Linked DNA regions of Homo sapiens: all the other regions are linked to region 1. The links are contacts of gene promoters, found by promoter capture Hi-C in blood cells and fetal thymus (Javierre and others, 2016). All regions are on one chromosome and are shown on one strand. The core of a region is centred on a gene start or on the middle of the fragment in contact, and the rest is flanking DNA. Distances in the headings are between cores, read along the strand shown.

Region 1 (4,608 bases), core at 748-3,247:
TGCTTTGTATGAACCAGCCCTCATTTTCAACATTCTGGAATTTTATTAATCTCATTCCCTGCTTCTGTTTTAAAACTGTTTTTTTTTAATTGCCAGAACAAACATTCACAAAACTGATACTTTAAATAAAACTGTAACTAAGCATAGAAGTATAGAAGTAACCCAGCTTTTCCCCTCTTTGGGGTTTTGTGTTATTTTATTGCTCATATAAATACAATATACACGTGGCTCTGTCTCGGTGGAAATCTGAAAAAACAGATCTTGCAGTCCAGAAACTGAAAACAAAGTTTAAAAACAAAAACCTTCTACCTCAAGAGTCTAGGATATGCCATGAATCTATTTTTGTAGTAATTTTAAAAAACACAATATATTCCTTTTAAAATCTTTCTCAGAGAAAGTAGAAACTGGGCTTTGAGAGGGCTCTTTTAGCCAAACCCTGTGAGGACCCACCAAGCTAGAGCCTCTTTATCTAGTGACAGGGAATCTAACCATTCTTAAAACTTGTGGGTCCTCGGAGTGAGAACCCATAGGATAGAGAACTGCAATTTGTGGCTATTTTTAGCCAGCAATCACAGAGAGAACTTAAGCAGCCATTAAAAGGAGGCAGTGAACTGTGTTAAATTCTAGATGAAAGAGAGAAACAGCGGAGAGGGCCAATCCTGATGACTCACGGTGCACGAGTTCCCCTTTAAGCAGGGATGTGTCCTTGCAAGGAGTCCCTGCCCTTCCCTGGCCTCAATTTCATCCTCTTTAAAAGGAACTAGTCAGCTGGGTGCAATGGCTCACGACTGTAATCCCAGAACTCTGGGAGGCGAGGTGGGAGGATCACTTGAGTCCGGGAGTTCGAGATCAGCCTGGGCAACGTGGCGAAACTCTGTCTCTACAGAAAATACCAAAAAATTAGCTAGGTGTGGTGGCGCGCGCCTATAATCCCAGCTACTCAGGAGGCTGAGGTGGAGGATCACCTGAGCCTGAGGAGGTCAAGGCTGCAGTGAGCCATGATAGCGCCTCTGCACTCCAGCCTGGGCGACTGTGAGACCCTGTCTCAACAAAAAATAAAAATAAAAGGTACTTGTCGGCTCCTCAGGTCTTCTGCTTTATTATCGCAAGTCACCGCTCACTTGAGAAAAAAGGCGACTTTAATGGTATATACAGAAAAGAGGCGTCTGCCCTCAAATAACAGAGAACATTTATCAGGCACTTTGTTGGGTGCCTGGCGCTGTACTGCGTTCTGTGTACGTATTCTCTACCTTAGAGTTACCCTTCAAGAAAGGCATTTTCATCTCTAGTTGAGATGAAGAAGGAGACAGGACTTGGAGGAGACCTTTGGCAGGGCTGGATGGGAGGGAGCCAGGTCTAGAACTGGAGGGGCAACGCGGCCCCGGGCGCAGGGGCGGGGCTAGGGCCTGGAGGCTGGGTCAGGGGCGGGGCCGGGGCCTGGGACGGGGCGAGGCGGACTTGCCTTGAAGTAAGCGAACTGCAGGAACTTGTAGGGCTCGCGGCGCTGGAAGTCCGCCAGCACCTCGCGGCTGGGCTGGGACTGGCGGAAGGCTGGCAGGCCCTGCTTGCAGCGCTTGAGGCAGTGCGCGCGGCGCAGCAGGCCCCCGAAGAGGCGCAGCTCGGGATAGCTGGCGAGGCCGGCGGCGGGCTCGGGCTGCGGCGCGGCGCTGCAGTTGCGGTGGCAGAAGGCCTCGCTGTCGCGCAGCAAGCGGTGCAGCCGCAGGCTGATCTCCAGGTAGCCCACGCTCTCGGCCCAGTGCTCGCCGCTGTACTTGTCCAGCGCGTGCCGGTAGGCCGACTCGAGCGGCATCAGCTCGTCCCGTGGGAAGCTGCGGAAGCTGTAGCGTTCGTATTGGGCGCGCCCGGCGCGCAGCGCGCAGGCCACGCACAGCAGCGCTAGCAGCGCCGCGGCCCCCCGGCGCCCCGGCTCCATCGCGCCCGGCGAAAGGAAGGAAGGAAGGGACGAAGGAAGGGAAAAGGGGAGGGAGAAGGAAAGGAAAGAGGACGGTGCGACGCGGCGGGCCCAGTGCTTTCGGGGCGGGGACGCCAGCCTCCGGCCCGCCCCGTCCGGCCGCCCCTCCCCACCCAGCCGGGGGATCTGGGCGCCAGCTGCCAGCACCTAGAGGGTGCCCGGGAAAGGCGCGCTGCGCACTGGTTCACGCAGGCTGATGCGCATGATGGGACTCTGCCGCTCATTCACTTGGAGACCCGCCTGCAAGGCCGACGCGGCCCTAATAGATTATATACATCGGCCCTACGGTCTATATAATCTACGATCTTTATATTCGTTTGGAGGTTTGTGAAAACGAAGATTCCTGGGCTGTGCCCCCAGAGTTTCTGATTCAGAAAGTCTGGGGTGGAGGTCTGACGATTTGTGTGTTTAACCAGCACCCTGATGAGGCTAATGCTGCGGGCCCAAGGGCCGCACTTTTAATAGCACTGCCCAACCTTAAATTTTAGTGAGAGAAAAAGACAGTGCAAAAATAAAATTAATAAGGATGTCAGCACTTTGTAAACTGTATAGCTAGTCAGGTTGAAGATGTGCACACCTTATGAATCTGCAACACCATTCGGTGGAATATGCTGGAGAAGCTTGCGCGTGTGCATCAAAAAATATGGATGGAATGTTAATGGCAGCACTTTTAAAAAATCTTTAAACTTTTAAATCTTGAAATAATTTACAAGAAAGCTGCAAAAACAGTACAAAAAGTTCCTATATACCCTTCATCAAGATTCACAAGTTGCTAACGTTATACCACATTTCTATCTTTACATTTTTTTCTGACTCATTTGAGATAGGTTGCATGTATCAGGCCCACTGTCCGTTAGTCTTTTTTTTTTCTTTTTTTTTTTCCTTTTTTTTTTTTTGAGACGGAGTCTCGCCCTGTCACCCAGGCTGGAGTGCAGTGGCGCGATCTCGGCTCACTGCAACCTCCGCCTCCCGGGTTCAAGCAATTCTCCCTGCCTTAGCCTCCCGAGTAGCTGGGATCATAGGCACACACCACCATACCTGGCTAATTTTTCTATTTTTTACTAGAGATGAGGTTTTGCCATGTTGGCCAGGCTGTTCTTGAACTCCTGACCTTAGGTGATCTACCTGCCTCTGCCTCCCAAAGTGCTGGGATTACAGGCGTGAGCCACCGTGCCCAACCCCTTAGTCTTTCAGTATGTATGTCCTAAGAATGAAACTACCAGACAATCAAATTTAGGAAATTTAATACTGATAGAAGACTTTAATCATGTTCCATTTCCGGTTATGTCAGCTGTTCCAATTATGTCTTTCATGGCACTTTTTTCTCTTAGGATGCAGTCCATCCGTGATCACTGTTACATCTAGTCTATTTCATATCCTTTAAACTGGTTCCTCGGCTTTTCTTGTCATGCCGTTGTCATTTTTGAAAAATATAGGCCAAAACAGCAATGAGATACCACTACAAAATCCAAAACACTGACAACGTCACATGCTGACAAGGATGTGGAGCAACAGGAACTCTCATTCATTGATAGTGGCAATGCAAAATGGTACATACAGTTTAGAAGACAGTTGGGCCGTTTCTTACAAAACTAGGCATACTCTACTCATACAATCCAGAAATTGCACTTCTTGGTATTTACCCAAATGGGTTAAAACTTATGCACACACCTGCGAATGGATGTTTGTAGCAACTTTATTCACAATTACCATAACTTGGAATCAACCAAGATGTCCTTCAGTGGGTAAGTGGATACATAAACTGTGGTATATACACACAATGGAATTTTATTCCAAGCCAAAAAGAAATGAGCTATCAAGCCATGAAAAGACATGGAGAAGTCTTAAATGCATATTACTGGTTGAAAGAAGCCAAACTGAAAAGGCTACATACTGTGTGATTCCAGCCAAATGACATTCTGGAAAAGGCAAAACTATGGAGACAGTAAAAGGATCAGTGGTTGCTGAGAATTATGGAAAGGGAGGAATGAATGGGTAGAGGACAGGATTATTGGAGCAGTGAAACTATTCTATATGATAGTATAATGGTGGATATATGCTATACATTTGTTAAAATCCATAATATGTACAACACTAAGAGTGAGCCCTAATGTAAACCGGACTTTGGGTGATAACGATGTGTTGATGTAGGTTCATTGATTGTAACAAATGTACCATTCTAGTGCAAGACATTGACAGTGGGGGAGCTTGCGCATGTTGTAGGGTCATGGAGTATATTTGAACTCTGTAGTTTCCGCTCAGTTTCGCTATGAATCTAAAACCACTCTAAAAAATAAAGTCTTTTTTTTGTTTTTTGTTTTGTTTTGAGATGGAGTCTCGCTCTGCTGCAGAGGCTGGAGTGCAATGGCATGATCTCAGCTCACTGCAATCTCCACCTCCAGGGTTCAAGCGATTCTCCTGCCTCAGCCTCCTGAGTAGCTAAGATTACAGGCCCGTGCCACCATGCCAGGCTAATGTTTGTATTTTTAGTAGAGACTGGTTTCACCGTATTGGTCAGTCTGGTCTCAAACTCCTGACCTCATGATCCACCTGCCTCGGCCTCCTAAAGTGCTGGGATTACAGGCATGAGCCACCGCGCCTGGCCTTTTTTTTTTTTTTTTTTTAAAGAACACAGG
Region 2 (4,608 bases), core at 584-3,083, 660 kb before region 1:
TGCGGTAGGGAAGACTGAGGACATACTTTGGTAGGCCTGGCAGAGTGACCTGTGTTTAGCTTTCTTGCAGTGCTTAGGAAAAGAGCCAGATACTATAGAGCCTGTCTCATGGGAACAAAACTCACAACAATATAAAGGAGCACCTAAAGGCATTTCCTTTTTTTTTTTTCCTTTTTTTTTTTTTTGAGACAGGGTCTCAAAAAAATGTTTTTGACGCTATGTTGTCCAGGTTGGTCTCAAACACCTGGACTTAAGCAATCCTCCTGCCTCAGGCTCCCCAGTAGCTGGCGTTATGGGTACATACCACCTCATTCAGTATCCCTAAAAGCATTTCCGAGCAAAATATAACTACTTGTTCTGGTGCCTCAGATTTTCCTGATTAGGATGATTCATTCCTTTAGAAGATGACCATGCTTAAAATGCACTTAATCTCTGGATGAGAAAGAAGACTACTTTTCACTATCCTGGGGCTATTTTTCAGGTTACCCAGGAAGAGCACTGGGAAAGGAATGAATATCAGGGTCACATGAAAAAGGCAGTTCTGGGAAGGTACCAGGCACCTGGATTGGCAAGCTAGAGGAGCTTAACAGACACTACCAACTTCAGACTGTCCCAGAGTCAGTGTGAAAAAGCACATAATAGATAATTCCAAAGACTGAGATTTGCCTAATTTTTATAATCTAGGATTCAGTCACATTTATTTTCAGCTTCGTAAACCATTTTTTGTAGAAGCTTTATGAAATATGCCCAGGGTTGGCAATTTTGAGGCAAACAAATTTTCCACTTTTTTCTTTTCTCCTGATTACTATAATTTTTTTAGTCTTATATAAATACTTCTCTCACAGAATTATGAACTTAAGTGCTCTGTGTAGAATGCAATTTTTCTTCTTTTTTTTTTTTTAAGAAAGAGCCTCACTCTGTCACCCAGTCTGGAGTGCAGTGGTGAGGTCTCGGCTCACTGCAACCTCCACCACCTGGGTTCCAGCAATTCTTGTGCCACAGCCTCCCGAACAGCTGGGACTATAGGCGCACACCACCACGACCAGCTAATATTTTCTTCTTTGTATTTTTAGTACAGACGGGGTTTTGCCATGTTGCCCAGGTTGGTCTCGAACTCCTGGCCTCAAACAATCCACCCGCCTTAGCCTCCTAAAGTTACAGGCATGAGCCACTGCCCCCAGCCTTTTCTCTTAATACATCGAAATTTTACCTATGTGGCCAGGTGTGGTGGCCCATGCCTCTAATCCTAGCACCTTGGAAGGCCGAGGTGGGTGGATCACTTGAGGTCAGGAGTTGGAGCCCAGCATAGCCAACATGGTGAAACCCCATCTCTAGTAAAAATGCAAAAATTAGTCATGCATGGTGGCACTTGCCTGTAATCCCAGCTACACAGGAGGCTGAGACAGGAGAATCGCTTGAACCCAGGAAGCAGAGGATGCAGTGAGCTGAGATCATGCTACTGCACTCTAGCCTGGGCAACAGAGTGAGACTGTCTCAAAAAAATAAAAAAGAAATGTTATCTACCTGTTTATGGATTTGGATCTAACTTTGGTTGTAGTAGAGCCTTTTTAAAAAATATCCAGCATATCAAGATCCAACCATGGTGTACAAATGACACATTTAAGCTTCCCTGCAATGTTAACTTTATATAATGATATCTAATAGACATGTATTAAAAGTAAACTATGTGGGAGTACCAACATGCATAAGATCAGTGGGGTTTCTGAGTCTGATTTTTTATTTGGCTGGGAGGAGGGAAGGTTATAATAATTAATGCAGCTTATGTTAAACCTGGGGATGTTCTATACTCCTACTTTTTAGTTATATCATCCTTAAGGTTGCAGAACAAAATCATAGAGATACCCTAGAGCAGCTAAGTAAAAGGAACTTTTTTCCAGGCAAACACATGCTTTTAGCATACCTGATACTTACTGTGATGGAAACAGAGTTGGTAAGAAATACTGATATCAGCAAGCGCCTCCTTCTCCTCTAATAAAGTGAGGCCAAAAATGGTTTTAGAGACCACTTGAAGAAAGCTTATGTAGGATTCTCCCAGAACAGGGGGGATGGGATGGACTGGCTTAGTAGAGTGATGTCAGTGGATTGGGAAAGTCTGCAAGGCTGAGGGAGGCATAGCATTTGGTGAGTTCAGTGGAGTGATTTGTGCTTAGCTCGTTAAAGCTCCTAGAGGAGTATTAGGCAAGCTTAACCTTGAAGCAGCAAAGCAGCCCTCTACCTAAAAACCTGGAATGGGACAACTGATGAGAGGCCCCAGAATTGGCCATCAGTGTCCCTCTCTGTTGTGACCTGTGCCCTGACCTTGCATCTCTTAAGTTGTCACGGAGGAGGGAGATACCCACATTGCCTTCCTTGTAATGTAGTGTAGTAGGGAAGTTCAGAGGAATTCCAAGGCATGAATCTTGTCTAGTAGTTAAAGAAGACAAGGCCGGGAGGCATAACCACTCATTATTGCAAAGTGAGGGATCTTTTTCTTTAAGATGGAAATAGCTTTACTGATTTTTATGATTATAAATATAACACATGTGCACCGCACTTGATCTTAGCCAAAAGGCAGAGAAGTGATAACACATGTGCACTGCAAAAATGCAAAAAATAAGGAAAGAATGAACTCTATGATTTCAGTGGGATTAGTCCATAAATGCTGTTTGATACCTGATTTTTTCACCAATAGTATATTTTAGACATCTTTCCATGATAATGAATATCATTATGGCCACCGGGTATGTCTTTGTGTGAATGTCAAACTTAATGCTGTCAAAAATTCACACTGCTTACAGTATAGTTTCTAAATGAAGAAATAGTGATACAATAAACAAAGAACTTTGCACATGGATTCAATTATTTTCTTAGGCTATATTTCTAGAATTAAAACTGTTAAGTCAATTATTACATACATTTTTAAAATCTTGATGTATACTACCAAGTTGCCTTCCAGAAATTTAGTACCAATTTGTATCCTTAGCAGCAGACTATTGATAGTATGTATTTTCTACATCCTTATCAATTCCACACATTGTCATTTTTAACTCAACAAATTTTATTCCTTACTCAAAATTTTAAGAAACTTCCAATCCCTAAATACCAATAATATGATACTTTTTTAAAGTTTATGAAAAAATAATAGTAGTCTATCAAATATTCATCAATACACTTTTTTTTTTTTTTTTTGAGGAGACATGGTCTTGCTCTGTCACCCAGGCTGAAGTGCAGTGGTGCAATCATAGCCCACTGCACCCAGCCAAGAAAACTATATTTTTAAATAGTCACTCCTGCTTCCCTCTTCTCCCAATCTCTGGCAACTGCAAATCTACTCTCTTTCTGTATGCAAATCTACTCTCTATCTACTTTTTTAAATTTTAATTTAACCTTATTTATTTTTGAGACAGGGTCTTGCTCTGTCTCCCAGGCTGAATGGAGTCCAGTAGCATAATCATGGCTCACTGCAACCTCAACCTCTCAGGCTCCAGCAATCCTCCCACCTCAGCCTCCTGAGTAGCTGGGACTACAGGCTCACTCTACCCTGCCCAGTTAATTTTTTATTTTTTGTAGAGACGAGTTCTCACTATGTTGCCTGGGCAGGTCTTGAACTCCTGGGCTCAAGCAATCCTCCCACCTCAGCTTCCCAAGCAGGGAGGCTGTGTGTCACCAAGATTAGTGAGATTCTTCTTAGCAAGATCAAAGTTTTGCAAAATGTCATTAGAAAATCTGGACCCAAGATAGGGCTATGGTAGGAGAGAAGATCTTTGCACTCTTGAGGAAAGTTACTTGGATGCTCCGGGTAGCAGTGAACAATCTGTGCCATAAACAGAACCAGCTCTGCTAATTCTTTGCTCAATTTATTTGGTTGGTATTTGAAAATCTCCACATTGGAATTGTGGTGATTATACTGCTATAGATACTCTTCAGTGTGGACAGGTGAGTCCTGCTTGATTAGATTCTGTCATTGCACCAGGATGCTGGGCACACTGTGGTTTCTGTTGGATGTGTTGGCTGCAGACTGGCTCCATGGTGAGCAGTTCTATGAAAACTCAGATGGCCAACAGCCACCAATCAGTTCTAGCTGCAACTTCTATCAGACATTTTTATTATAGCCATCCAAGCACTATGTGAAGTTGTATCTTTGTTTTTGATTCGTGTTTTCCTGGTGACTAATTATGTTGAGCATCTTTTCATGTGCTGATTGACCATTTGTATTTATTTATTTATTTATTTATTTATTTATTTATTGAGACAGTGTCTCACTCTGCTGCCCAGGCTGGAGTGCAGTGGCACATCCATGTCTCACTGCAGCCTTGACCTCCCTGGCTCAAGCGATCCTCCCACCTCAGCCTCCCCAGTAGCTGGGACTACAGGCATGCACCACCATACCCAGCTAATTTTTAAATTTTTTGTAGAGATGAAGTCTCACTATGTTGCCAGGGCTGGTCTCAAACTCCTAGCTCAAGAGATCCTCCCACCTTGGCCTCCCAAAATGCTGGCGTGAGCCATCACCCAGCTCTTGATTCAAGACTTCAACTTTCACTCTGGTCCTCAGTTCACTCCTTGGAATTGAGAACAGGATTCCACGACCTGGCCTTTGTTACTGCC
Region 3 (4,608 bases), core at 703-3,202, 540 kb before region 1:
GTAACATTTCAGCTAATTCTCTTCTTCAAAAATATATACCTTTATAAAAAATTTAAACAATAAAGATATGTATATAGTGATAGGCTGTCTTGGGATTTATATAGTTCTTAACAGTTTGATATATACTCCTGCGTATTAGTCTTTGTCACATCCAGTGCACATACACTATACCAGAATCATGTAAACATATAAAACATGAACATATAAAACAAATGGATTATACTGCCCCTACCTGATGTTTTTTGTTTATTTACGAACTTACAAACTTTGTTTATTTACGAATATACAAATGTCATTTCCCTTTCAAAATTCAAACAATGAAGGTAAAGCAAAAATCCCTTCAAAACCACCTTCAAGCCCCGAGCCCAGGTGTAAACAGAGGAGAACACTTTTATTAATACGTAGCATGTCTTTTTCTACCTGTTACTGTGCCTTTACATACATACTAAATATCAAAGTATATGGTTTTGCTTTGACTGTGTTTACGTAAATGATACCATTCTGAATGTAATTTTGCCATTTGCTGTGTTTACTCAGTATGGGATGGAGCTTTTTAAAAAAATACTATCGTGTTATTTCGCATCATTTTTTAAAACGGTTGCATAGTATTCTATAATATGGACATATCATAACCATTTTGTCTTCTATAGAAATTTGTTTACTATATATAATTTTTCTAAATGGTTCTGAAATAAGCACCTTTGTACAAACTACATGTGTTTGTGTATATACACACAGATATATTTCTTAAAATAGTCTGGACGTGGAATTTCTGAATCAAAGTTTTCATTTATTTTAGAATTGTGTTAGGTATAGCTAATTTGCTCCAAAAGAGGCTTTACCACATACACTCCCACCAGTAGTGTCTGCTGTCCTACATTCTTTTCAGTTCTGGTTATTATTAAAATTTGTCTATCAGATGGTTGAAAAATATCTCACCCTTTATAAACATCTATGCTTTCTGATAAGATTGATCACCTTCATGTGTTTGGTTATTTATATTTCCTTCTCTGTAGATGCCTTTCAGCATTGTAGCCAACTTTTTGGTTGTTTGACCTTTTTGTGGTTGTTTATTTATACTTGCTTTTTATATATTCCAGTTATTAATCTATTATCTATTGAATATGTTATGTAAGCTTAACTTCAAGACCATGTGAAAGATTTCATTAGCAGTTTTATTTCTAGGCAAACTTGGGTTTGTGAAGCACTATAATGGCTTTCACTTATGAATTGAGGGTGGGTTTGGGGGGCTTTTCAATTTAGTTGTCCTCACCCTTACCCATGAGTATTAAATCAAGTAGTCAGATAATCATGCAGTAGCTCTGGGCAATCAAACCAGATAGAGTTAAAAACCTGTAGGATTATTATGTGGTGCTGAGCCCTGCAGTCTGCCTCAAAAAGCGGGCAAGAGGAATTTGGCCTTTTGTTGTTATGCTGCAGAGTGGCTGGAAAGAAATAAGGTTTTGTTGTAAATAGATTCTTTCTAAACTTTTAACATTTCAGCACAGTCTATTATTCCAAAAATGAGTCTTTAAAAATATATATAAAAGTGATGATATAACCATGGCTTTCTAGAGACCAGCCTTCTGGGACTACACCAAACTAATATATAACTTGGTATGTGTGTATATATATATAAAACTTGATTTACAATTGTTTATAGAACAATAGCAATAAATTAGTACTAAATAGATCTCTCTTCTTCCATGCTGTTGAATATTCTTTGTGATACACTGGGATCAGGTAATTTAAATTAATGAAAGAAAGCAACCATTTGACTTACTGGCAAGAAGGCTAACTTTTCTTGTAGGGACATTGATAGAGGGAAAAGAAGTCTATAAGGTGAAAAAGTAAATTACAAGAGACAGAAGATTGGGCATTAGCAGTAATACAGGCAGTAAGTAGCAGGCACTAAGATTGAAAATAGACAATGACTAAAATAAAGCCACCCTATGGTACCTTCCTGCTGTAGCCATTGAAGGTGTTGTACAACCATCCTGTGTTTTAGGTCTGTGTTAAGGGCATCTAAGTGAATATACTGTACCTTTGAATAAATAGTGTCCTTCTAAGGCAGTCTCATTTAACGGGTGCAGGGGGTTGGGCACCAATAGTAACATATCCTCAAACCTGATGTTGCTAATAAACTTGAATCTTCAAGAAAAGGTTTACATGTTTTCTTTGTACATATAGAATAGTACAATTGATGTTCTTAAAGCTGCAGTAGGCTAAACTGTCTTGAAAATTTAAGTAGTTGAAATGACTAAATTTTGTAAAGGTTCTAAATAAACCTGATTCTGAGCCTCATTTATTATTTAGTTTGCTGTTATGGCTATTATGGCATGTGTTATTTAATTTCATTAATACCAAATAATGGTTTAAATTGTGATTGTCCCGTTACTTCATTGGACTGTTCAAAGTCTTGAATTTTTAAGGGACCCCTTTAAATAAAAGGGCAAAAGTCTTCAAATATATTTTTAACTAGTCAGTTATATCTACCTAGAAATTTCAAGATACTTTATCAATTATCATGGCCTCTATTAAACTTTGTATAGAACTGACTTTATTTCTTATAAATAAAATAGTTAACTAAGGTTGTGCTGCTGAGAATACTGCATCTGCATGTGAATATTAAAATATAGCCAGTTGTCTTATTTTTGAAGTCCTTGAATTTTCAATTTCTAATAATTTTACTAAATTTTTTCATTTTAGTTTAAATTGAAGATGTTTTAAATTTTTACTATTTGATTCTTTTACTTCTGAAAGCTTGTGATTTTCTTTAGCTCTGGGAAGTTTTCTCCTATTATTTTTTCGTAAGCTTTTCCCCTTTATTAGTTTAGTCTTTTCTTACCTAATTGTTATTCAGATATTGAACTTCCTGGGTTGATCCTCTGTCTTTTATGTTTTGTCTTCGCTTTCAAGTTTTATGTCTTTCTCTTATTCTATATTCTGGGAGATATCCTTGACTTTCTCACCCAATCCTTCTATTAAATTTTAACTTTGACAAACAAAAGTTTAAATGTGTCCAAGAACTTGCTTTTTCCTTTTTCCGTGGTTCCATTTCCACAAAATCCTGTGTGTGTGTGCACTCATGTGCACATTTGTGTGTAAAATGTTGTGTTCCCTGAATCAGGGATGGGAAAGAGTTTGATAAAACGATTCCGTAGATTTTCAGTTGCTCCTTGTGCTCATCCCTGTACTTTCTGGCTTAGAAATAGTCACTTCTCTGTTATTCTGCAAGGTAGATAAATTCTCTGCTGTTTTAGCTTCTGAGAATCACAAGTTGTGGCTTTACTGTGGTGTTAACGGTGTTATTCTTCAGTAGCTGTTCGTTCTTTTTTTTTTTTTTTGACAGTTCAGAGCAAAGGGAATGTGCCTTCTTTTTTTGCATCTTTTAAGAATTCATTGTGATTTTTTAGATGCTGATTTCACGTATTCCACCCTCGTCTTATTTTCTTTACCCTTTTGAGTTATTTTATTGGGATTCCAGTGCAGGATTTTAAGCAAGGGAGTAAAGTGATTAAAATTATTATAATTTTTTAATGAAGCATTTCAGACATACCCAGAAATAGTATTATAATGAATTTCCATTACTACTTATCATCCAGTTTCAAGAAATTATCAATACATGACTAGTATTTATTCATCTAGATCCCTACCCCATCTTTTCCCAGCCCTGCTATCCTGCTGGACTAAGATGTGTGTGTATGTGCACATGGTACTCATCATGTATATCAAATAAAGTGTCTTTTAGAAAGACAGTTACAATACCATTGTCACACCTAAAAGTTTAACCCTTAGTGTCAAATGTGTTCACATTTTCTCAATTGTTTTATAAATATCTTTTTACAGTTTGTTTTGAATCAGTATTTGAAGAAAGTTCACCATTGCAATTGGTTGATATACCTCTTAAGGCTCTATTCATCTATAGGATTTATCTCACTTTTTTCTCCTCTTGCCATTTATTTAGTGAAGAAAAAAACATCTGTTAAATATTCTTCCTGCACACTAGATTTTTTTATTGTGTTGTGTGGTGCTTTTATATTTCTGCTTTTTAATGTTTATCTCCTGTATTTCCTCAAAATTGAAAATTTTTCTAATGGCTTGATCAGAATCAAGTCTAATTTATTAGAGTGGGGTTGGTACATATTTTCATGTGTGGTATTTTGGATTTCTGTCAGAAGGCATACACTGTCTGATTGTCTTTCTTTGTGATCCTAATATTGAGCAGTGGGTTTAGGTGTTATCAGCCTGATCTGTCCTTTATACAGTTCCCCCTCAGCCTTTCATTTAGTGTTTTTGGCAGCTGTTGATCCAAATTATTTTTTAGAGGATTATATTGTCTACTTTGTGGTTTGGAAAGAAGTCAAAAATAGAAGCAAGGAGACCAGTTAAGAGGCTCTGGTAGTAGTATAGGCAGAGACAATACTGGTCTGGCCTTAGATTAGGAGTGGCAGCAGAGGTAAAGAGAAACAGTGGATTTAAGCACAAGAACTGTTGGTAGACGATCTCTGTGGGTCAAAGGAAAACTTGAGCACATTATGAGCCTGAGCAGCTGAGTAGATGGTGACGTTATTTACTGGGATTGGGGAGGACTTAGGGAGATCAGTT

The links. Contacts are between HindIII fragments. The CHiCAGO score rates a contact against its expected background, and 5 or more counts as called.
Region 2: a contact is called between a fragment that was not itself captured here and the fragment with the promoter of CRTAP in region 1, in 4 of 17 cell types (endothelial precursors, naive CD4 T cells, naive B cells and 1 more). The highest score is 6.8, in endothelial precursors.
Region 3: a contact is called between a fragment that was not itself captured here and the fragment with the promoter of CRTAP in region 1, in 1 of 17 cell types (erythroblasts). The highest score is 6.3, in erythroblasts.

What each region holds. Positions count from the first base shown.
Region 1 is chr3:33,111,403-33,116,010 of GRCh38, reverse strand. It overlaps CRTAP (cartilage associated protein), which reads right to left and starts at 1,997. Exons shown (of 7, transcript NM_006371.5): 1 at 1,463-1,997. The coding sequence starts at 1,933. RefSeq lists enhancers at 295-1,286, 4,167-4,376 and silencers at 1,238-1,427, 1,868-2,167. The HindIII fragment of the contact is 4,978 bases long and covers 1-2,594 here.
Region 2 is chr3:33,771,358-33,775,965 of GRCh38, reverse strand. It overlaps the pseudogene SDAD1P3. Among named protein-coding and RNA genes, the nearest start is that of PDCD6IP-DT, 25 kb to the left of the region's middle. The HindIII fragment of the contact is 411 bases long and covers 1,628-2,038 here.
Region 3 is chr3:33,652,772-33,657,379 of GRCh38, reverse strand. All of the region lies in intron 7 of CLASP2 (cytoplasmic linker associated protein 2), which reads left to right. Among named protein-coding and RNA genes, the nearest start is that of CLASP2, 63 kb to the left of the region's middle. The HindIII fragment of the contact is 1,627 bases long and covers 1,139-2,765 here.